4 separate regions of the Homo sapiens genome follow, and all the other regions are linked to region 3. Evidence: promoter capture Hi-C in 16 types of primary human blood cells and fetal thymus (Javierre and others, 2016). All regions are on one chromosome and are shown on one strand. Each heading gives the region's core, a stretch centred on a gene start or on the middle of the fragment in contact. The rest is flanking DNA. Distances are from core to core; before and after follow the strand shown.

The links. Contacts are between HindIII fragments. The CHiCAGO score rates a contact against its expected background, and 5 or more counts as called.
Region 1: a contact is called between a fragment that was not itself captured here and the fragment with the promoter of LYN in region 3, in 1 of 17 cell types (neutrophils). The highest score is 10.1, in neutrophils.
Region 2: a contact is called between a fragment that was not itself captured here and the fragment with the promoter of LYN in region 3, in 7 of 17 cell types (neutrophils, total B cells, naive B cells and 4 more). The highest score is 20.3, in neutrophils.
Region 4: a contact is called between a fragment that was not itself captured here and the fragment with the promoter of LYN in region 3, in 2 of 17 cell types (neutrophils and naive B cells). The highest score is 11.6, in neutrophils.

The regions. Positions count from the first base shown.
Region 1 is chr8:55,760,752-55,766,292 of GRCh38, reverse strand. It overlaps TMEM68 (transmembrane protein 68), which reads left to right. Exons shown (of 8, transcript NM_001286657.2): 2 at 2,313-2,357; 3 at 3,265-3,658. The coding sequence starts at 3,334. Among named protein-coding and RNA genes, the nearest start is that of TMEM68, 9.9 kb to the left of the region's middle. The HindIII fragment of the contact is 4,212 bases long and covers 2,048-5,541 here.
Region 2 is chr8:55,963,154-55,969,061 of GRCh38, reverse strand. It overlaps LYN (LYN proto-oncogene, Src family tyrosine kinase), which reads right to left. Exons shown (of 13, transcript NM_002350.4): 9 at 2,165-2,347. Among named protein-coding and RNA genes, the nearest start is that of SNORA1B, 63 kb to the right of the region's middle. The HindIII fragment of the contact is 5,688 bases long and covers 515-5,908 here.
Region 3 is chr8:55,876,616-55,882,795 of GRCh38, reverse strand. It overlaps LYN (LYN proto-oncogene, Src family tyrosine kinase), which reads right to left and starts at 2,961. Exons shown (of 13, transcript NM_002350.4): 1 at 2,693-2,961. RefSeq lists enhancers at 869-978, 3,158-3,217, 3,778-3,867 and silencers at 2,178-2,357, 2,388-2,677, 2,758-2,927, 2,948-3,007. The HindIII fragment of the contact is 13,046 bases long and covers 1,336-6,180 here.
Region 4 is chr8:55,782,268-55,788,007 of GRCh38, reverse strand. TGS1 (trimethylguanosine synthase 1) reads right to left here. Exons shown (of 13, transcript NM_024831.8): 2 at 5,196-5,260; 3 at 2,117-2,289; 4 at 948-1,770. Among named protein-coding and RNA genes, the nearest start is that of TGS1, 12 kb to the right of the region's middle. The HindIII fragment of the contact is 6,073 bases long and covers 1-4,902 here.

The DNA.
Region 1 (5,541 bases), core at 2,904-5,403, 120 kb after region 3:
TTGCTGCTCCTCAGGCCACACCAAGTGCACATATTTTGCACTTGCTGTTCATTTAGCTAGGAAGTTTGCTTCCTTCCTTCCTCCCTCAGGTTTCTGCTGAAAAATATCTTTTAGAGAAGTCTTCCCAGAATGCCTTATATAACATAGCAACCTCCTCCTTTCCCCTACTCCCGTGCCTGACATAGAACTCCATATTCTTCTTACACTGCTGTTTATCTTTCTCCCTAGCACCTGTCATCATCTGACCTAGCATGTATTTACTAGTTCTTTGTTTACTGTCTATCTTCCCCCTCTAGGATGTAAGTCACTTGAGGTTGTAGACTTTGCTTTATTTGCTGCTGAGGAAATGGGTGGTACATATTAGGGTACATAGGTGCTAAATAGGTCTTTATAGAATGATTTATCATCTTCATTTTCAGAGAAACAATGAGACACAGAGAGGTGTAACTTGCTTAAGATTGTAAAGCCAGTATTCCAGTATGTTCAGTCTGGCTCCTAAGCCCATTCATGTCATCCACTGTGTTCCCGAAACAGACTGAAAGGATAGGCTATGTCTTAGCCCACCTCATGAAAGTTAATAAGCAGATGAGATGTATAATCTTTGCTGGGCTCAAAAAGGTTTTTTTCAAGTGTAGTTTGTAGAGATGTAGAAAATAGTAGCATATTTTTAGCTGAATGAGTCAGTATGATCGAGTTACCAAAAAAGCTGCTGTGATTCTATGAATGATAGCGATAGCAAACATGTAACACTGATTACATGTAAGGTATTCTAGGCTCTTTACACAGATTAGCCCATGTAATCACAGTAATCTCATGAGGTAGTTAGGATTATTATCCTAGTTTTATAGGTTTTAGCAAACGGAGGCACAGGGGTTACCGTACATGGTGTTGTCAGTATCAGATAACTGGAGTCAGCAACTCGGAGTGGTCTTGAGTGCTGAAAGCTTAAGAAACCAGGGGCTGAGAAGTAGTTGAAAGAATTAAGGATTCTGACTGGAGAAGGAATTTTGTGGCTCATGGCAGCTGTTTTTAAACTTACAAGGTTGTTTAATGGAAGAGGGTCTGTGGTACAAAACTAGGTCCAGTAGGGAAAAGTTACGGGGAAGTTAAGTATAAGGAAGACCTTTTTAGTAGTTCTGATGGATGGTTGCTATGTTGCATTCTAAATGATCAAACATGGGTAAATTATAGTGATTTGACTTTTTTTATTTTTATTTTTTGAGACGGAGTTTCACTCTTGTTGTCCAGGCTGGAGTGCAATGGTGCAATCTCGGCTCGCTGCAACCTCCGCCTCCCAGGTTCAAGCGTTTCTCCTGCCTCAGCCTCCCGAGTAGCTGGGACTACAGGCGTGCACCACCACTCCCAGCTAATTTTATATTTTTAGTAGAGATGGAGTTTCACCATGTTGGTCAGGCTGGTCTCAAACCCCCGACCTCAGGTGATCCACCTGCCTTGGCCTCCCAAAGTGCTGGGATTACAAGAGTGAGCCACTGCGCCCAGCTGGTGATTTGACTTTTTATATGGATTGATTAGATGATGATGTAAATAAAGCCCAAGTTGTGGGCTCAATGTTTGCTATGTTCATCTCCTGTAACCATAACAGACCAGATTTCTCACAAGTAAATGCTATTGGTTACAAGGAAGTTAGATGAAATGTTTCATTCCTGGGAGAACAAGTCAGTGCCTGCCCTCCTAATAAGCCAGTTAGCAAGATAATCTTAGAATAAAAACAATACATTTTTCTTATATGTACATCTCCTCCTCTCCTTTCATCCTTTGCTTTCATTTATTCATTTTTTGCCTCAGCTACAAAGGACTTGAGATAATTTTCAGTAAGATTATATAGTATGGAATAATGATAAAATAGTTCTAAGAATACAATCAAAGTATGGAGAAAGGAAATCTTTTGTAGGAAAATATTATCATAGGGCTAATATAATTGTATAATTGAATGTTATGTTTCACCTTCAGGTTATCTGGCAAAGTTACTAAAAAGAATCATAGTCAGTTATATATCTTCATACTTTTTCTCCTAAGAAACAAAGCTTTTGAAAACTTTGTTTAAAATAAATTCTTAGGTGGGGCTCTATATAGTGGCACTAAACAGTGTAGAGTTGTCTTCACCAAAGCAATGGTAGCATGAGTGTACTTTTTAATTGTAATATACCAGTGTGGGCCTATAATCATATTTCTTAAACATTTATGAATGTCTCTTGCTGTTTATTTTATAGAAATGCTAACTCTAGGTATTAATGATTATCTTTTTTTTTCTTAGTAATTTATTTCTTACATTTGTTTACTGTGCTTTCCAGAATAGAGACATTGAAGTTTGGGACAAGATATTTATCTAACTTCTGGTAAGTCCAATGACTGTTTTAGAGAGTGAATTTGTAAAATAATTATACAGCTATATTTTCAGTCATTTAAGATTTAAGATAAAAACAGTACTGATAAATTTTTATTGCATAATGAACTTTTGTAAATCTGTTTCTCTATAAAAAAACAATATCCATTAATGTATGTAATCATTTCGTAAAGAATTGGGTTACTTTTACTGAATTAGGTAGATATTGATGTTTTCTTTTGTGCAGAGTTATCTCAATATGGCTGGGCATGGTGGCTGATGCCTGTAATCTCAGCACTTTGGGAGGCTGAGGTGGGTGGACCACTTGAGGTCAGGAGTTTGGGACCAGCCTGGCCAACATAGTGAAACCCTGTCTCTACTAAAAATACAAAAATTAGCCAGGCATGGTGGCACATGCCTGTAGTCCCAGCTGCTCGGGATGCTGAGGCAGGAGGATTACCTGAACCTGGGAGGCAGAGGTTTCAGTGACTGAGATCGTGCCACTGTACTCCAGCCCGAGCAAAAGGGTGAGACTCCATCTCAAAGAAGAAAAAAAAATTATCTCAATGTGACCTGGTTTAAGATCTAATTTTTCAACATGATCCAATTAAGATGTGAGTCAAATTATTAAAATCAATCTGAAATTATATTCCTCATCAGCTTTATTTTCTTCTCTTAATTATAGCTTTATTTTCTTCTCTCAATTATAGTGAATTATTTCAAAAGCTAAACACGACATACTTCATGAGCAGACAGATGAAACCTTATAATTTTCACATTTAAATCTGCAACAAAGTTAACCATTAACCATCTACTCATTTTGGGTATTAAGAAATGACTCTATATGCTATTTAAGTAGAGTAAAACATTTAACTTTATAGCTGTGGAGAAAATAATACTGGATTATTTTTCCCTTCTAGTGTCAAAATTAGCGACCTGCTATGGCAATGAAGAAAGAAACTGAATTTGTCATTTTCACCTGAAGAAAAATGATAGACAAAAATCAAACCTGTGGTGTAGGACAGGATTCTGTGCCCTATATGATTTGTCTGATTCACATACTCGAAGAATGGTTTGGTGTGGAGCAGTTGGAGGACTATTTGAATTTTGCAAACTATCTCTTGTGGGTTTTTACACCACTAATACTTTTAATACTTCCTTACTTTACTATCTTTCTTCTCTACCTTACTATTATTTTCTTACACATTTATAAGAGAAAGAATGTATTGAAAGAAGCCTACTCTCATAATTTATGGGATGGTGCAAGGAAAACAGTGGCAACTCTGTGGGATGGACATGCAGCCGTTTGGCATGGTAAGCAAGGATACTTTCACCTTTGTGTTGCCATTCATGTGTGCTGCATTGGAACTGTGTTACCATTCCATTTTATTGATTGAGAAGATACTGAAAAATATAATAGAAGTGATATTTACTATTCCCTGTTACCTGTTTGCATGCATTGTGCATATGTATGTGTCTTTCTTAAAATGAGTTTTCCCATAGACGTTGGTTTCCATTAAACAAAGAACCACGCAGCACTGTAGACTATAAGTTGAAATAAGAAAATTTATATTTAAAACATCTAAAAGAGTAAGAGACTAAATAAAGCTGTAGAAAACTGCTTTAAAAATGCTTCAATTATTTAGCATTTACTTCTGTTCAAAATAAGTTTGACTCTACCAGTGTGGATTTAAAAAAATGAAATATTAAATAATATTACATTAAATATAATTTGCATACCAAAATTTATGCATTTTCTGTTGATTCATTCCTGAGGTTGGTGTGTCTTTCTGAATAAATAAGATAGCAATAGATTTCTCTCCAGGATAGTCATTCTTTTCTTTATTACTCGAGAAATTTTGATGTTGTATACTTAATGATTGGTGGTTCTTCTTTGTTTGGCCATCATGAAAATTGCCTTCTGGTGGCCTATTTTTAAGTGGTTAGTGTTTCACTCTACCAACTTTTACTTCATTATTCCAACAATATCTAGTTTGTTGGTCTCTTTTGTTTTTAGACTACACAAAAATACTGAAGATTCAATAGGCAGGTAACAAACATTGGCTTTCTGTATTATGTTGTTGAGCATCACAGTGGTTTCATAGAAGGACATGGAAGGAAGCACAGACTTTAAAAGACACTTGAGGATATATATCACTGAACTATTAGGCTGCTATTAGCAGAAATCACCAGTGACATGCTTATTAGACTAATGTATTTTCATTTTAATACTACATACATACTTAACGAACCTACAAATTTTTTTTGAGCACCTACCTATGCCAGACACTGTCAATTGCTTAATATAAATTAACTGCTTTAAATCTCATTAACATAATGGAGTCTATGTGGTACCCCGATTATACTCATGAGGAAACTGAGGCACAGAGAGGTTGTTATTTGCCCAAGGTATACTAGGAATAGGGCCAGGTTACAACCCCAGATACCTGGGAGTATACATTTGAGAGAGCTCTTGGAGGTAAAATAAACAGAACTTGGGGACTGAGTGTAGAGTCTTGAGGGAGGAGGAGTTAAAGTCCAGTAAGATTTCTACTGCTAGACAGGGAAACATGAACTGGAAGTGCTCCAAGTAATAGCAACCATGTGAGCAGAAGCACAAAGGTGGAAAAGTACTCTGGGAGCCACAGTTAGTTCATATGATACATGAAATAATGTAATGTCACTTTATAGGCAATTGGGGCCTCAAGGGGCTTGAAAATGTTGGACTAGAGTGGTAATGCACTGATACTTTCTCAGCAGGGAGTAGTATGATCACATCTGCTCTAAGAGTGACACAGTTAAATAGCCCTAGGTTTTAAGGTTTACTGGCACTATAGTAAACTATTTTTTTTAAATATTTGATTAGTTGGATTTTTCTGCTTTCAACCAGGTGGTTTGGTATTATGTGAGTAGTTCAATTGTTTATTATTTAAAAAAATACTCTGTAAAACCAGAGAGAACCTTGGTAATATTCTGTATAGAATCCTTCAAAGGAGTTTCTTTATTGCTCAGAAAATGTATTTGATGGGACAGTTGATCCTCAAACTCAGTGACTGTTTTGTAGAGCTTAAAGTAAATTGAATTACTTGAGTTAGAATTATGTAATTGGAAAGAAATGATATAATATGGAAACATACAAAATCTTGGAATATCATTAAATTATTTTTCAAAACATTCTCAAGTCCATTTGAGTAGCT
Region 2 (5,908 bases), core at 2,109-4,608, 86 kb before region 3:
CAATCCTCCCACCTTGGCCTCCAAAAGGGCTGGGATTATAGGTGTGAGCCACCACGCCCAGCCTCAAAGAATATTTGATGAGTGAACTGTGCTTTGGAAAAAAGTGGAAACCTACCTAAGAAGGAGTGTGCTGCTGAACAAACTCTCCAACCTCCTATGGCTTCATCTCTAAAGCAAGACCTGTTTTTCCCCTAGAACTTTAAGTACCAGCCTTACGGGTAGCCTTGGTCAAGTTGTTTACCTCATCTAGGTCTCTGTAAAATGGGCATGTACTAGAGGCTATATTACAGTTTTGGGGGGTTGGAATCAAAGGTTGCATCCAAAGCACATACCATGATGGTTGACAGGTAGCAAGTGCTCAGTAAACGTTATGCTATCTCATCTATGACACAGAACAATAGTACTTAGCCCTCAGGCTGCTGAAAAGACTAAGTGAGATCACCCATGGAAAGCACCAAGAGCAGTCTGGCATATAGTAAGTGCTCAATAAATATTAGGCATTGTTGGCCAAGCTTGGTGGCTCACACCTATAATTCCAGCACTTTGGGAGGCCAAGGCAGGCAGATCACCTGAGGTCGGGAGTTTAAGACCAGCCTGGCCAACATGGTGAAACTCTGTCTCTACTAAAAAATACAAAAATTAGCCAGGCATGGTGGCAGGCACCTGTAATCCCAGCTACTTGGGAGGCTGAGGCAGGAGAATCACTGGAACCTGGGAGGCAGAGGTTGCAGTGATCCAAGATAGTGCCACTGCACTCCAGCCTGGGTGATAGAGTGAGACTCTGTCTCAAAAAAATAAATATATATATATATTAGGCATTGTTACATAGGAAAACTCATATTTATACCTATCATTAGGAATACTCTAAGTTAATTAATTCAACAATATTTACTGAACTCCTATAAGGTGTCTGGCCCTGAGCCTGGTTTCTGGGCTATATATGGCAACCCAAGCCACAAGAGCTAATTGGTTTGTTTGCTTTAAAACAAACAATGCCATTGTTTGGAAAGACTCTGAGTGACTGATATTTTGAAATACTCACAGATATTAAATAAGAAAATGTAATATTCATCTTTTGAATCTATTCAGCTATGACATCATACTATCATCTCCATTGTGCATGAGATGATTGTTAATCCTGGATCATTGCTTATGTTTCTTCATTACTTCTGAGGACTTCGTAAAAAATAATTTGGCAGTTTATTAGTATGTTTCCTGAACTGGAGGTGAACAAAGGAAGAAGGATGTTGATTCAAAGTCTTGTATATGAAGGTGATCACAGTAGAAGAAAAATTGATTGCTTGAAGTCTATTCTCCAGCAATTCTATGATTACATAGGACTTTAACCTCCACAAGTTTTAAAAAACATTAATATTTAAAAGTGACACCCTGAACACTTAGATAATGCTGAAAAGGAAAATGAATATTAGATAACGCTAAAGAACAAATAGAGGCTGGGTGCTCATGCCTGTAATCCTAGCACTTTCAGAGGCTGAGGCAGGCAGATTGCCTGAGCTCAGGAGTTCGAGACCAGCCTGGCCAACATGGCGAAACCCCATCTCTACTAAAAATACAAAAAATTAGCTGGGCATGGTGGCACGTGCCTGTAGTCCCAGCTACTAGGGAGGCCGAGGCAGGAGAATCGCTTGAACCCGGGAGGCAGGGGTTGCAGTGAGCAGAGATTGCACCACTGCACTCCAGCCCGGGCAACAGTGTGAGACTCTGTTTCCAAAAAAAAAAAAAAAAAAAAAAAAATGAAAGAGGAATTTGGTACTGAACAATCCGTACTAAATCTGTAGTATTAGAATTCTGGGAACTCTTCACATTTTAAGCATATGTATTTCAAAAATTCCTTTTTGAAATACATAGTAATTCATTTGATAAATATTTATTGGGGGCTACTAGATATGGGGTACTATTCTCAGGGCAATAGGTACACGCAGGCAGATGCAGAGAAAACAGGAGGATTAGATTTCAATTCTGTGACATGGATTACTTCTGGTGATTAGGTTTATAAACTGCTTTGTCTTCCCATATTTCCTGATTTTTCGGTAGTGGGTATACTGTTTGATAATTAAACTAGTTGAGTGACCTCTGAACACTTACACATTTTACTTTTTGAGTTTGAAGCCCTTGCAAGCTCTGGGCAGTGGGAGGAACTCACCCTTGGCCATGTACTCGGTGATGATGTAAATGGGCTCCTCCCTGGTGACCACAGCGTAGAGCCTCACGAGCTTGTCATGCTGCAGGGTCTTCATGAGGTTGGCTTCTTCCAGGAAGGCTTGCACAGACATAGTTCCTGGCTTCAGGGTTTTCACAGCCACCTTGGTACTGTTGTTATAGTAACCTAGGAAGAAAAAAGAAGGCGGGCATGCTTTATAAAACAGAAAATCTAGCCGGGGGAGGTGGCTCACACCTATAATCCCAGCACTTTGGGAGGTCGAGGTGAGTGGGTCACCTGATGTCAGGAGTTCGAAACCAGCCTGGCTAAAACAGTGAAACCCCATGTCTACTAAAAATACAAAAATTAGCTGGGTGTGGTGGCAGGCGCCTGTAATCCCAGCTACTCAGGATGCTGAGACAGGAGAATTGCTTGAACCCAGGAGGTGGAGGTTGCAGTGAGCTGAGATCGCACCATTGCATTCCAGCCTGGGTGACAGAGTGCGACTCCGTCTCAATTAAAAAAAAAAAAATTAAAACTTCACTTTGTAGATGCAGAGTTAGCAAAAAATTTAATTACAGATAGAAAAAGCCTGAGTTAAAACACTATGTAGTGATAAAATTAGGGGAGGCTAGATGAAAAGTATCTAGGAATTTTCTTTCTTTACCAAAAAATGTTTAAATTATTCAAAAATCAAAAGGTTTCTATGAAATAGTAGCAAAAAAACGTTTTTATTGGCACTCTACCATGAGGGCTAATATTTATTTATTTATTTTTAGACTACGTCTTGCTCTGTCGCCCAGGCTGGAGTGTAGTGGCACGATCTTGGCTCACTGCAACCTCCACCTCCTGGTTTCAAGCGATTCTTATGCCTGAGCCTCCTGAGTAGCTGGGTTTACAGGTGCCCACCACCACACCTGGCTAATTTTTGTATTTTTAGTAGAGACGTGGTTCCACCATGTTGGCCAGGCTAGTCTCAAACTCCTAACCTCAAGTGATCCGCCAGCCTCAGCCTCCCAAAGTGCTGGGATTATAAGCATGAGCCACTGTGCCCAGCCGAGGACTAATATTTTTCTCTAATAATAAAATGTTCTTTATTCAAGACCAAAAAAAACAAAACAAAACTCTATATATGCTATAATCCCTTACATACATATACATACACACACAGGCATACACTCACATTATAATCCCCATTTTAAAATACAGACATATTTTATAGATACACAGACACACACATATAAACAACAGTCTGGAAGAAAAGACACCAAAATATATCAAATGCTGGTTATTTCCAATGGTGTGATTACGAGCGATTTTAATTTTGTTCACCATATCTTTAACTATTTACCACATTTTCTTTAAAAAAGGTGTTCTTTATAAAAATTACTTATATATACTAACTTTAAAGTACAATATGCTAGAGTCAAACAAGCACTTCCCAAAATTTGCAGACAACTGGACTTGGGTGACTGTTAGTGAAAAAGGATCCCCCACTAAAAGGACAGGGAGCCACTCCCTCCACTCCTCCCCCACCCAGGAGATGCAGCAGGTGCCCTGGGAGGCCTTCAGGGGAAAAGCCTGCATTTGTTCACCCCAGCGTTTCCCACAATTTCTTGACCTCAGAACACTTGTTCAAGTAGCCTCTTACACCGCATGGAACACGCTCTGGGCAATACTGACTCCTTAGTATAGTTCCCCCGAGGCACCACCCTTCTGGGACTGGGATTGAGCACTTTAATCCTGACTTTCTCTTGGGAAAGCCTTTTCTCAGTAATTTGGCAAAGCAGAAATATTAATAATCATACTCTTCCTTCCTGTCCTCTCTTCTGCTTCCATCTTTCTCTTGGAAATGTTAAAAAAAAAATGGGGAGAAGGGAGTAATAGCTGCTGGTGTCACTGCAAATCTTCCTGCAGTTCCTGCTGCCTGGTGCGCAAAAGCTGGATAGCACCTGCCCTATCCACCTAAGGAAAGGTGACGTGGAGTGGACGGTCCCCTTTTTAGGGTGCAAGAGTATCTGTATGTGAATAGCATAGAAAGATGACTGGAAGCCTGCTGAGTAAAACAACAGTGATTATCCCTGGCTGGTAGAATTTGGAGTGACTTCTACTTTCTCTTGTTCTTTTCTATTCTGATTGGATTTGTCAATGAGTATGTACTCTTTTCTTTTCTCTTCTCTTCTCTTTCTTTTTTCCAGGAGAGACAGGGTTTTGCCATGTTGGCCAGGCTGGTCTTGAACTCCTGACCTCAGCTGATCTGCTCACCTTGGTCTTCCAAAGTGCTGGGATTGTAGGCATGAGCCACTGTGCCCAGCCAAGTATGTACTTTTTAAAAAATGATTTTTTTAAATAATAAAGAAATGTATTATACATCTATTTCCAAGCCTTCAAACAAATAATAAAAAGTTTATTTATAGCTAGCAGTCAACCTATCCAATGATGTTTCTTTTGGTCATTAAGACTGATTCCTCTATTAAAATGTTTTATTTTGTATTCCACTTTGGTTAATACTTAGGAGCTTGCAGTGCTCTATAGAAAAATGAGGCTAGACAAGGTGGTTCATGCCTGTAATCCCAGCACTTTGAGAGGCAGGAGGATCGCTTGAGCCCAGGAGTTCAAGACTAACCTGGGCAATATAGTGAGACCCCCTTCTCTAAAACAAAACAAAAAAAGAAAAGAAAAAGAAAAATGCAGTACAAGATAAGTGTTAGAACATATGGAGAAGATAGTAACATAAAGCTGACAAAAAAAAACCATCCTAGGTCCTTTTAAAAAGCTACCACCTACCTAAAATAATGGAATTATGAATATATTAAATTGTTCTGACATCTAAATGCATAATTACAAGCAATATGGCCTTTTCTGTAGATCTTAAGAGTTATTGTAAAGTACATTCCACCAACAAAAGCCTTTTAATATTACATTTAAATCAAAAAGGTTTTATTATAAATTTTTTAACGTTTATAAACCCTAACCTTAACCCCAGCCCTAACTCTAACCCTAAGTTACATGAGCATATCCATAGCAAATCACAGCAGGAAAATACATGATATAAAATAGATGAAAATACATAAACTATATGATACATATAACTGCAAGGAACTTGCATCCAGGATATAGAAAGAATTCTTACAAATCAATAAGAAAAATCAGAAGAAATAGGCAAAGACTTGGAAGGGCATTTCAAAAGAAGAAATTCATATGAGTAATAAACACGTGAAAAGTACTCAATCTTATTAGCAACCAGAGAAATGCAAATAAAGTCATGAGAAACCACTGCCGAGCTCAGCAAAAATTTTTAAAGTCTGGTAATATCAAGTGCTGATGAGCACCTGCCCCTTGGGAGGGACTCTGGAGCAGCTGCCCTAGGCCTCATTCTGTGTTCTTTGCTGAGCATCACTGAAATTCAATTGCAGAGCTTCTGTGACAACATCCAAGGTGTCCATGAAGGATGCTGAGTGCACACTTCCTTCCGGATAACCACCCACTGCCTGTGCTGCCTTGGGGCCCACATCTCTCTAAGTACAGCTCTGCTAGTCAGGAAAGGGGACGTGGGGACTGGCATATTGCTGGTGAGAATCTTAAGCTGGGACCAGCACTTTGCAAAATAAGTTGGCAATAACTTAGAAGAGCTGAAGATTCATACACCTTACGATCCAGCAAATCCACTCCCACTCACCCTAGAGCTCATGCATGCTTGCATCAGCACAAAAATGAGGCACAAAAATGTGCAGCGCATTGTTCATA
Region 3 (6,180 bases), core at 1,712-4,211:
ATCTTTTTCTGTATCTGTCCCTCTCCATCCTATAGGAGCCACAAGAGGTTCAAATGAAATTAGAGTTCAGGAAGACTTCAGAGCCCTGAACAAATGAAAGGTGCTAACACCTTCACCATCATCACTAGGAAGAGCCAGTAAAGGTCTGAGGCTATCTCTGCTATCAATGTGACATTGATCAATGTCCTGACTAATGATTGTGGTGGCCTTTCAATGTTAACACTCATCCATGCATCACTGAGATCATCAGTAGGAGTGAGCTTATAACAATGTTCCCTGCTGTGGGCATGTATACATGGTGTCCTTATTTATAAAGTTAGTATGGGTTTGTACATGAATAATATGATTTAATTTTGTTAAGTTACAACTCCACATAGTCATGTGAACCAACTGGAATCTCAGATGTTTTTGGTGATTTATCTAAAAACAAATATTGCAGATAGAAGTAAAAGGCTTTCAAAGTCATTGAACAGTGCTGGACCACTTTTCTGCTAAAAGAAAGCTATTGGAGGGCAGGGGCGGGATTACAAAGTTTCGACCTACCTTTGTAACACCAATGACTCTAAAATAATGTAGGTCTTCTGGATTGGGCCAACTACCTTTGCAGGAAACATCTTAACCACCCCACATCAGGACCTCTCTTCCAGTAATAAGTAGAGAAGAGCGGTGCTGAGTGGAGACTCTCATTTAGTTACCCACACTAAATGTGGGTAACTCAGTGCTGGGTAACTTTACAGTCAACAAAGCCTCTCAAATCCCCGTTTTAGAAACCACAACAGAAAGGGCCAGTAGGCTTCAAACACCTTAGGGACCAGCTCTATTTCTTCATCTCCCTATGTCCTCAGTTTTGCATAGGGCAAGCTCACAGGAGGCCTTCATTCCTTCTTCCAAGTAATCTCGAACTGAGCACCTACTATGTACCAGGCACTGGGGCTATCATTTTGGACAAGACAGATGAAGCAGTTTTCATGGAGCTTCCACTGTAATGGTTAATACAGACTATCAACCTGCAGACAAATCAATATAACTCTGGCTGCTGCTATAAAGGAAATCTTGGCTGAATAAATGGCCCAAGTGGCTTATCCCAAATCACAGCATATTAAATGATGGAAGAGGCCAAAACTCAAGGTTCCTGGCTCCTACTTTCTCTCCCCTTACATCTGCTGCCCTCTATCCTTCACTCAGCAAAAGGGCCACACATTTACATCCAAAGAGGCCCAGTCACCAAAGACTCTATGATCCAGTGAAATTTATTCAGGCCTCAAAGCGCTTACCTGCTTACCTCCAAATGAGAATGGAGGGACTAACTGGATCCCACCCTTTCCCAACAAAGCTTACTCTTACAGAGAAGGGCTTAGTAAGGCCTGGGTTCTTGCAGTGCCTATTCCCCAGGGCATGGCTTTAGGTGTTGGCTGTACAGAGAAAACATCCCTGTAGCCCACCAGTTTATTGGCTAGTTCTTTAGGGAAAGTCAGACTACTGGGCCCTGCTTTGGGACAGCAAATCCCTCATGTATTTATTAAGCAGATTTACTAATAAGGTCAGATGGCTAAATCTGACATGGTAGTCTTAGCTTCAACATCACCAAGCTGCAAAGAACCAAGAAGCCTCATTTATATGAATAGAATTCACTGCAATAAATAACAGTAACATCGTTTATGAAATGCTTGGTACGTACTAGGGGCTTTGTGTGTACTAAACAGCCCCTGAGGTATATATGCTCTCTCAAAGATGAAGAAACTCAAACAGGGAATTTCAATAATCGGTCCCCTAAATATACAGCCAGAAAAGTGCAAGGCCTAGATTCTGAGCTGGCGAAGAAGGGCGAATTTGGGATAATTAACACACTCGGATATACAAAAACACAACCGCTAATCCACATGACAGGCAGGCTGTTGGAAAGTTACGAATGCACCGCAAGCAAAAGATGCCACCATGGGCCCAGAGAATGCAGGAAAGTGGGAACTGACTCTTACGCCCTTCCCCCAAGGCGAAGGAAAGGCAACCCCTGAATTCTTAAAATAACTCTCGCTTCCTCTCAGCCGGCAAAAGCACCGGACTGCTCCTCGGCAGGCCGAGAGGCGCCGCAGCGGGAGGGTGAGTTCCAGCCTCCGCTGCAGCCCCTCGACGTCACGCTCCTGCCCGGGGCCACCAGGGAGGGCAACTGTCCGCGGGCCTCGAGAGGGCGCCGGCCGAGCCCCATCTCCCACTGCCAGGAGACCCAGGGTCCAGAGGGGAGATCAGATTGCACAATCCGAGGAGTCCTCTCCAGTATCCCCGCCGCGCGCCCGCTCCGCAAGGGCAGCGGCTTCCCCACTGTGTGCGAGAAGCGGCCGGAGCAGGGACAGCAGCCGGCCCTCGGGCCCTCACCGGGAAGGACACGCGGTGAGCCCGCCCCCGCGCCCGCACCTCCCACCGCTCCCCTGCGCGGCTCCGCGGCGGACACCTGCGGAGCCTCAGTCCCCGCGCCCTGGCTCCCCCGGGCCCGGTCACCCGTCGGCTGAAGACATCTAAGAGCCTTCGCCGCCGGAGCCCAGAGGCGGTGCGGCCAGGAAGCCGCCGCGGGCCGCGCCGATGCCCCCGGCCCCGAGTCTACCCTGCGCCCGGGACTCCGGCTGGTGGCACAGCCGCGGCCCCTGCACCCACTGCCCGCGTGCCCGCGCCCACCCCTGGGCTCGCGCAGAGGACTCACCCGCTCGCGGTGAAAGTTTCGGGGCGGCGGAGCTCCACGGTGACTTGAGTTCAGAGTGGGGGGCGCGACGGGGCGGCCCAGCAGGACCTGCGTATGGGGAGGCTGCTGGCCGGGAACGCTGGACGCGCGGCGAGGGGCTGCTGGCGCGGGGCCGGGGGTGGCGCGGCCGCCCCGCTTGCCGCGGGCTGGAGGCTGCAGCGCGTCTGGCCCGGAGGCGCCACGGCCGGGGAGCGAGCGGCAGCGCGGCCCGGCGCGGCGGGAGAGGAACTGGCTGTCTCTGGGCTCGGCCGAGAGGTCCCAGCTACTTCCTGGTGCTCGGATTTGCATATTGAGCCCGGAGGGCGGGGAAGTGACCGTTTGGTCCCTGCCCAAGGTTTGGGTGTTTGGTGTGGCCGTCGCGCAGGGCTTTGAAGGCACAGAAACCTGGCGACTCAGTCTGCAGCTCCGGGGAGTGGAGCAGCCCGGGCCAGCCTTCTCCTGTAGGGACGGACGGAAGGATCTCCAGAGGAGCCTGGGCTTCGCAGGCACATCGACTACACCTCTCGCGTCTCCTTTCCTTTCCTTCCGACCCATCCCCAAGGTATTATTAGGAAGGGGGTGCTCCCAGGAGCGGAGGAGGTGCGCTCTGATCCCTTCCAACATTAGGGGTTCTCTAGAGAAAGGATGCGATATGCCGAGGTGATGCTCGGGGTCTCGCTGAGTTCTTAATAATCATTACAAAGTAAGTTCCTTAAGGGTGTACAGGAGGCTGTTCAGGGCATTGATGGGGGAGGGGATGACGTAGAGTCAAATGGCCCGGCAAGTTCTCCGTTTCTCAAAGCCTCAGTTTCCTCCCAGGACAATGGATGTGAGGATGCCTATCTCGTGTACCTTTCTGTACAGGGCCCGCACTGCCCGCATGCAGGAATGCTGGCGTTATTTCATTCCTACTACAGCTGCGTCCCAGCATGTAGGGCAGTGCTTGCACGTAGCAGCTGGTGCCTAACCAGTGTTTGCTGAAAGAATGTGTGACCGCGTGCTCAAGCTCATGTTCAACTCAATAAATGCCACTTACAAATCCAAGATGTAAGATTAGGCTCGGGCACCGTGGATACCCACTTCTTCTAAGCCAGATTCTGTTCACTGGGATCTCAGCATTGCATTAATAGCAAACATTTACAGAGGGCCTGATGGGCCAGACACTGCCCAAAGCACTTCCTTTCTCTCATTAACAATGTTCTGAAGAGGCTGACCCCAGCTACAGAGCAATAAGTCAAAGCAGCTGCCTTGTGACACAATCTGATACAGCAGTTATTTGTTACTAGGAAAAGAGTACTAAAGTTTGCATACTAATTCCTTAAAAGAAGAAAGGTGGTTTATACCTGTGATGTTCACTGGTATGTAGTTGTTAGTTTACTGCTGAAGAGAAGGGGTGGGTTGCCCATGGAAATACCCATGGGAAGGTGTGTGATTGAAACCTATCAAGAATCCTATGGAGAAAAATAGAAAAATGAAAAAAGAACAAAACAAAACAAAATGAAACAAAAAACAATGAATCCTACAGAATAATTCACTACCTGAGGGCCTATTGCCTAGACTTTTCTTAAGAATGACCTCTCAAATATATTAACCCTACATTAAAGTTTCTGCTGCTACTGATGAATCCTTGAGATCCTGACTAAACGTGTGTGGCAAATAAGAATAGGATTCAAAAACGTTTGGTATTGGTTAATCTATCAGGAATGTCTGTCAGTGTTTTTGGTAAAATGTCTCTCAGGGTAAGGAACAAAGCATCATCAGGCTTACCTGAGCTTGCAACCAGATCCCCAACTCCCTAACTCCTCACAAAATTGTCCTCACTAAGTTCATCTCTTCATTCTTATTTGGAAAAAAACGATACGATGCTAATTTCCACTTCTTAGGCTGCATTTATACTTGCTGAATACTTCATTCAATCATTCTCCATATCTGTCTTTCCTTCTTAATGTCCCATGAAAGTTCTATTTCTCAGGAAAGTTTTATTTAAAGCTCCTATTGATAGGCAACTTTTTAAAGCATCTGTAGCATGTATGGTGTGCAACATTATTTTAAACTAGACCTAGGTACTTTTTAGCATTGTTTGCCCATGTTAGGCTTGTCTCCTCAACTACTGGTAAACTCCTTTTGGGAAGGCACTGCCTTTTATATTTATCTATTCCCCACTCTACCTCCCAGAAATTATGTTGGGTGCTTTAAAATAGTTCATTAGTATTGATTGATTGGTTAATTGATTGATGACTGATTTATCTCACCAGTTTTCTCTAAATTGAGCACAGAAGGCAGTGATCAGAGGCAGGGTGCAAATCAATTAAGGCTCCTTGACAGGATAGATGGGCCTTTGAAGAAAGGAAGGAATACGATGGGCGGGGCAAGAGAAGGCGGTATTGTAAATACGTTATGTACAGTGTATCCTCATTTTTGCAGATATCATATTTGTGAACTTATCTACTTGCTAAAATGTATTTGTAATCTCAAAATCAATACTTGAGGTGTTTTCCCAGTCACTCATAGATATGCACATCCCAGAGCAGTAAAAATCTTGAGTTGCCCCACGCACACCCTCCCAGCTATAGTGGAACAAGGCGATGCTCTGCCTTCTTGTATTCTTTTTGCTGTCCATTTAGTTTATGCTTTCCACACTTCTGTGCTTTTTGTTGGTGATTTTGCTGTTTAAAATGGCCCCCAAGCGACTGAGCTCAGTGGCTCATGCCTGTAATCCCAGCACTTTGGGAGGCCGAGGTGGGAGGATTGCTCGAGCTCAGGAGTTCAAGACCATCCTAGGCAATATCGTGAGACCCCCCCCACAATAAAAAAATTAAAAAAAATAAAAATAAAAATAAATGGCCCGAAGCGTAGAGCTTGCTAAAGTGCTGTCTGTTGTTGCTAAGCACCAGAGGCTGTGGCGTGCCCACTGGAGAACCGTCCTGCAGGCAGGAGCTACTGTGCTATTGGTTGTGAACTCAATGTAATGAATCAGCCATATATTAAATAAGGTGTCCATTAAACAGAAACACACACCATATAAGGTTATGTATTAATCATAATGTAATGAAAATGTTGTGTCCAGAGACTCACAGGAACCTAAGAAGCAGTGACTCGGTATTCGCTAATTCAGTGTTCACAGTGACTATAGAACATAACTACCACAAATAATGGGACGCAGCATACAAGAGCATCCCATCATCCACTGTGGGAAAATGAAATATCTGACCTCTAGGAACTTCTTCATTAGCACCGCCATCATCATCTCATGCGTGGTCATGGTGCTTGAGGCCAGGATTGGTCATGCTGCTCACCTGTTCATGTTGGTCCACCAAATCATCTGTGCTGCAACCCATCCCACTGCCACTGTGTGGGCTGCCCCTGCTGCCTCTTCTAGTATTCTTCCACCTAACTCTTGCCAACTTGGCCACAGACCTAACTACCAAGTAGCAAATAATACAGAGTAGTGGTGCTCAACCCTGGGGGCA
Region 4 (5,740 bases), core at 617-3,116, 94 kb after region 3:
GTGTTTGGGTCATGGGGCAGATCCTTCATGAATGGCTTGGTGCCTCCCCATGGTAATGAGTTACTGCAATATCTGATTGCTAACAAGAGCCTGGGACCTCCCCCCTCTCTCTTGCTCTCTCTCTTGCCATGTGGCATGCCTATGCCCCTTTCACCTTCTGCCATAATTGGAAGGTTCCTGAGGCCCTCACCAGGAGTTGATGCTGAGACTATGCTTCCTGTACAGCCTGCAAAACTGTGAGCCAAAATAAACCTCTTTTCTTTAAACATTCCTCAGTCTCAGGTATTCCTTTACAGCAATGCAAAGTAAACATTCTCATCGCACCGTACTCAGATTAACTCCTTTCAAAACACTTCTCATTGGCATTCTCTAGTCCTGAGTGGCACCAGTTTGCACAATTAGCTTTTTTTGGATCAGTTATTCAGGAATCAATCAAGTTCCTTATCCTGGATATTTTATTGATGAGAATCCTGAAATTAACCATTCCAGTTATAAATTAATATTGTGCCCCATTGAGATCTTTTTTTCACAGCAAGACTTCACTTGTCCTAAGTGAATTCCACATATGACTCATAAGACATTTGCCTAATGTCAAATGTACATTCTCAATTGCTTTCTAACATGCCTCTTATAAATTCATTTGCTGTGGAAAACTAAAAGTTCCAAGCTCACTTTATATTAGATTTCTCAAGAGATTCCACATTTTCCTTCATTAGCCACCAAAGTACAAGAGAAGGAATGATACTTTTGAGAACTGCATGCAAATATTCTTATTAATAGAAAAGGATAACTTGTGATATGAAAACAGGATGGATTAAATCATTTCATTATTATATGAAATGTACTTGGTATTATTTAACTCTACAATAAAGGATTAGTAGTTATTTTGCTAAATGAATTCATTTTGCTAACCATTACATGGCAGAATAAATCTTGGTTAATCTTACCCTCAGCTGGTGGGTCTGTGTTTGTATTCCCCGATGAGTTGCTTTCCTCATTGGTTCCTCCATTACGTGGTTCACTTTGGCCGGAAGCAGGGCACTCTCTTTTGCTACTAACTTCACTTAGCTGTTGATGACCATCATGACTTGTACAGGAATCTAATTGGCTCTGTGTTACTTCCTCTGAATTCAGTTTTATGTTACTAATTCCATCAAGTATTTCACTATGATCCTTATCACTTGTACCAGAGCTATCATTATCAACCATAATAGGTGAAGATGGAAAAGATACTAAGTCAACTTTCATGCATTTTTCATCGTTCTTGTCATCAGCTTCTGTTTTAGATGTGTAAGTATCTGTATCACAGCTTTGCGAGGCATCAAAAGTCCAACCCTGAGCTTCCCAATACTGAAATTGTTCCAAATAATACCAATAAAGTTGACTATAATGTTGCTCCCATTCTTCCTTTGTATCAGGAAAGTTCCAAGGTTCAGAAGATAGTGCTTGACCCGGATGTTTTTCTTGCCAACTTTGCCACAATAGTCCTCCTCCATATTCATTCCAATACTTTTCCCATTTCTCTGTAATTTCTAGCTTTGGAGATAATGTGTTTTCAACTGGAGGATTTTCTGTCTCAGTATCTTTTTTGCTTTGAAGTTCATATGTTCTGGTGTTCTCATACTGTTCAATTGAAGATGGATCATCTGAAGCCAAAATGTCGTCTTCTTCATATTCTTTTCTCCAAGATTCTTGCACAATTTCATCTAAGTATTTCTTTTGATGTTTTTTCTTTTTTATTTTAACTTTATTTCTAGTATTCATAGATACCTATATCAGATAAATAACTTGAATATAAAATGCACTTTATGAACTATAAAAGAAAGTAGAATCCAAGTCTATTTTGACATTAAATTAAACAAAATACTCTAAAGCCCCACTATGGGCTTTTAGCTCCACAAACAAGTGATATACTATCTAAGTTTCCAAGAGGAGGAACAGTCACACTTGGGACATATTACAACTTTCAGTTCTGGTTAATTTATAAATACATACATTTAAAAAGAGGTAGAGAGCGCTGATCGTGAATGCATATAATCTGATAAAAAGTAATTCCTTGCGATATTTTATAAAGAAAACGAAGAGAGAGAAATAATAAAAGTAAATTAATATTTACCTCAAAATCCTTATGTGCAGTTATCCTACCAAATTGAAGTGGCAATCCCATACTTCTCATGAGTTCAGCCTCAGAATCAAGTTCACTTTCATCCAGGCCTATGCCTTTGCTGTCATGTGATTCTGCAGTACCACAGGAATAACCACCTTCCTCTTCTTCTGTCGCCTGGTCTCCTATAGACACCATTTATTAGCTTAGTTTTAAGGAAAACTTAAGAGGCAGGTTTTCTTATTCTCATTTAAAAAAACCTGAGATCCAGAGTGACCCGCCCAAAATAAAGGTATGCAAATGTTACAATTTTTTTTATTTTTTAGAGATGGGGGTCTCACAACACTGCCCAGGTTGGAGTATAAGGGCTATCTGCAGGTGTGATCATAATGCACTAAAAAGCTCTGAACTCCCGGGCTCAGTCAGTCCTCTTGCCTCAGCCTCACAAGCAGCTAGGATTACAGTTGCATGCCACCTTGCCTGGCCTGCAAAGTTACAATTTTTAAAGGAAAAAAGAAAACAAACAAACAAAAAAACAATTGACGGTATGCTGGGCACGGTGGCTCACACCTGTAATCCCAGCACTTTCGGAGGCTGAGGCAGGCGGATCACTTGAGGTCAGGAGTTTGAGACCAGCCTGGCCAACATGGTGAAAACCCGTCTCTACCAAAAATATAAAAATTAGCTGGGCCCAGGCTGTAATTCCAGCTACTCAGGAGGCTGAGGCAGGATAATTGTTTGAACCTGGGAGACAGAGGTTGCAGTGAGCCAAGATTGTGCCACTGCACCCCAGCCTGGGTGAGAGAGCGAGACTCTGTCTCAAAAAAAAAACAAAAAACAAAAAACAAAAAACACCAATTGACAGTAATATGGAGTAGTAACAAAAAAAGCCAATGAAGAATCAACGGAAGAATCAATTTCTTATTGGGCTCTGCCTGCCACTATTCATCCAGCTGCCCATTTAACTTACTCTTATTGAGCATCTGCTCTATGTTGGGCACTGTGCAAAATACTGAGGATGGAAGGAAGACAGAACAGGCCATGTAACCCTGGTACGTGGAGAAAATACTTATATGTTCACATTCTTTATCTGCAAAATTACTGAACTAAGACAGTGAATTTAAAAATCATGATTTGTGAAGTTATTTTAGGAGGTATTAACAAGAGCGGGTGAGAAGCATGTCTTCATGCCCCTCACAGACACTTCAATACAACTGGGATTTAGGTTCCGGGATTCTGTGGAAGAGCTGATTTAACAAAAGGATTCTGCTATTAGAAGTTTGAAATCCTGGGGTTGGGCACAGTGGCTTATGGCTCTAATCCCAGCATTTTGAGAGGCTGCTTGAGGCCAGGAGTTTGAGATAAGCCCGAGCAACACAGCAAGACCCTGTCACTACAAACAAAACCAAAAACCAAAAAACAAACTACCCTGGTGTGGTGGTGCCTGTAGTTCCTGCTACTTGGGAGGCTGAGGTGAGAGGAATGCTTAAGCGATCACCACTCAGACAACAGAGCAAGACCCTCTCTCTCTCTCAAAAAGAGAAAGGTTTGAAATCCCCTAAACTGGAAGATTTTTTTCAAGCTCTCTGAATCTAATTCTTATAGAAAAACCATTTATTACAACAAAGTAAGTTTTACTTTACACCAATATGGTTATCTAATAGTAATTATACCATTAATTGAACATATGCCATTCAAGTGCTCTATTAACTTTAAAATGTGAGATAACAAAAAATCATTTTATGTATTAGCACACTCAATTAGCATTGGGCTGCACTCCAGCTTGATGGTCTCAGGCAACAGAACAGTAAATCTTATATAGCCAAAATGAAGACTGATAAAGAGAAATCTCTTGTGTGCAAATTCTGCTACAAGAGGGAGAAAGATACCTTTCTAAATAATGAAGGGGATTCCACTCACTACTCCATTCAAATATACTTACGAAAGCTCAGGAGACAGCAAAATGGAGAAAATGAGTAAGCTAAGTTTTATGTTCCTTTCATTGTATGCATATTTTCTTATGCTCGAGGAGCCTAGTGTTATAGGAACTTTATTTGTATAGCATAGCACTGAAACACAAACCAAACATTCCATCCAGTGATCAACTGAAGAAACAGTAATTTGTTCCATCGCCATGAGAGTTAAAGGGTTTCCGAAGGTAACTATGACACTGTACTTGGGCTGACTTTGGCTTCTAACTCCACGCTGTAATTTTCTCTGTGTCTAGGAACACAAAAGGTCTATGTGGAAGGACAAATGCAGTAGGGAAGTTTGAGACATCAAAGTGAGGCTCAATGTACAGTATAAATTATATTTGTTACTTGGGAAAGTTAACCAAGATGACAGTCTCTTTACTTCAGGCAAAAGACTATAGATGTTCACCTGGAATTTTTATCCCGTAGCATTTTTTTATCCTGCAGCATTTACCTACATAATACACTTCTCATGAAGTGTATTATGATTAGAATTTACATATTCTAAATTGGAGATGGAGTCTCACTCTGTTGCCCAGGCTGGAGTGCAGTGGCACAATCTCAGCTCACTGCAAACTCTGCCTCCTGGGTTCAAGGGATTTTCTTGCCTCAGCCTCCTGAGTAGCTGGGATTATAGGTGCCCACCACCATACCTGGATAATTTTTGTATTTTTATTAGAGATGGGGTTTTACCATGTTGGCCAGGCTGGTCTCGTACTCCTGACCTCAAGTGATCTGCTTGCCTTGGCCTCCCAAAATGCTGGGATTATAGGCATGAGCTACCACGTCCAGCCAGAAACCACATATTCCCTACTTTTCAAAGCTTTAAATTCCAGGTTGCTCTTATCTAATGGTGGCAACTCAGGAAGGAACACTACACACAGCAAAAGAGGCTACATTAAGTCAGCACAGGAGCTATAGAAAAATAAAAGATCTGCTTTCATAGAGATTCCAGAACCATGTTATAAAAGAAAATAAAAATTGTCTGATTACAGAATTATTTGGCATTTATATTTTATGCTAACAAATCAATACAATATTATAACAAATTATACATAAATTAACACATTATGGCTAATTTCAGCAAAAAAGGTTTATAGAATTTTATACTATATTACCTGAATTGTTGCCACTGTCTCTGATGTAATAGCCTTTTAATCCCAAATTGTACAATTTTCGATCCCTGCGAAGCAGATTAAGCAGTTCATATTGAAATGAATTAAGCCATCAGTTTAGAGGGAAAGAAATCTCGAGCCATCATAGATTAATTAATAAAAAGCTTATGAAACAGAAAAGCAATCTGCTAATACATTTCCCTCACTTATAATGTAGAGGCAATAATACATTTGTCATGGAGTTGTTGTAAGGACTGATAGTATATGTAAAATATTTAGCACAATGCTTAATACATGGTAGCATTTATTACTATAACTGCTAGTTACTAAAATTAAGGCTGGGCACAGTGGCTCCCACCTGTAATCCCAGCACTTTGGGAGGCTGAAGTGGGCAGATCACCTGAGGTCAGGAGTTTGAGACCAGCCTGGCCAACATGATGAAACCCCATCTCTATCGAAAACACAAATTAGCTGGGCGTGGTGGCAGGCGCCTACAATCCCAGCTACTAGGGAGGCTGAGGCAGGAGAATTGCTTAAATCCGGGAGAC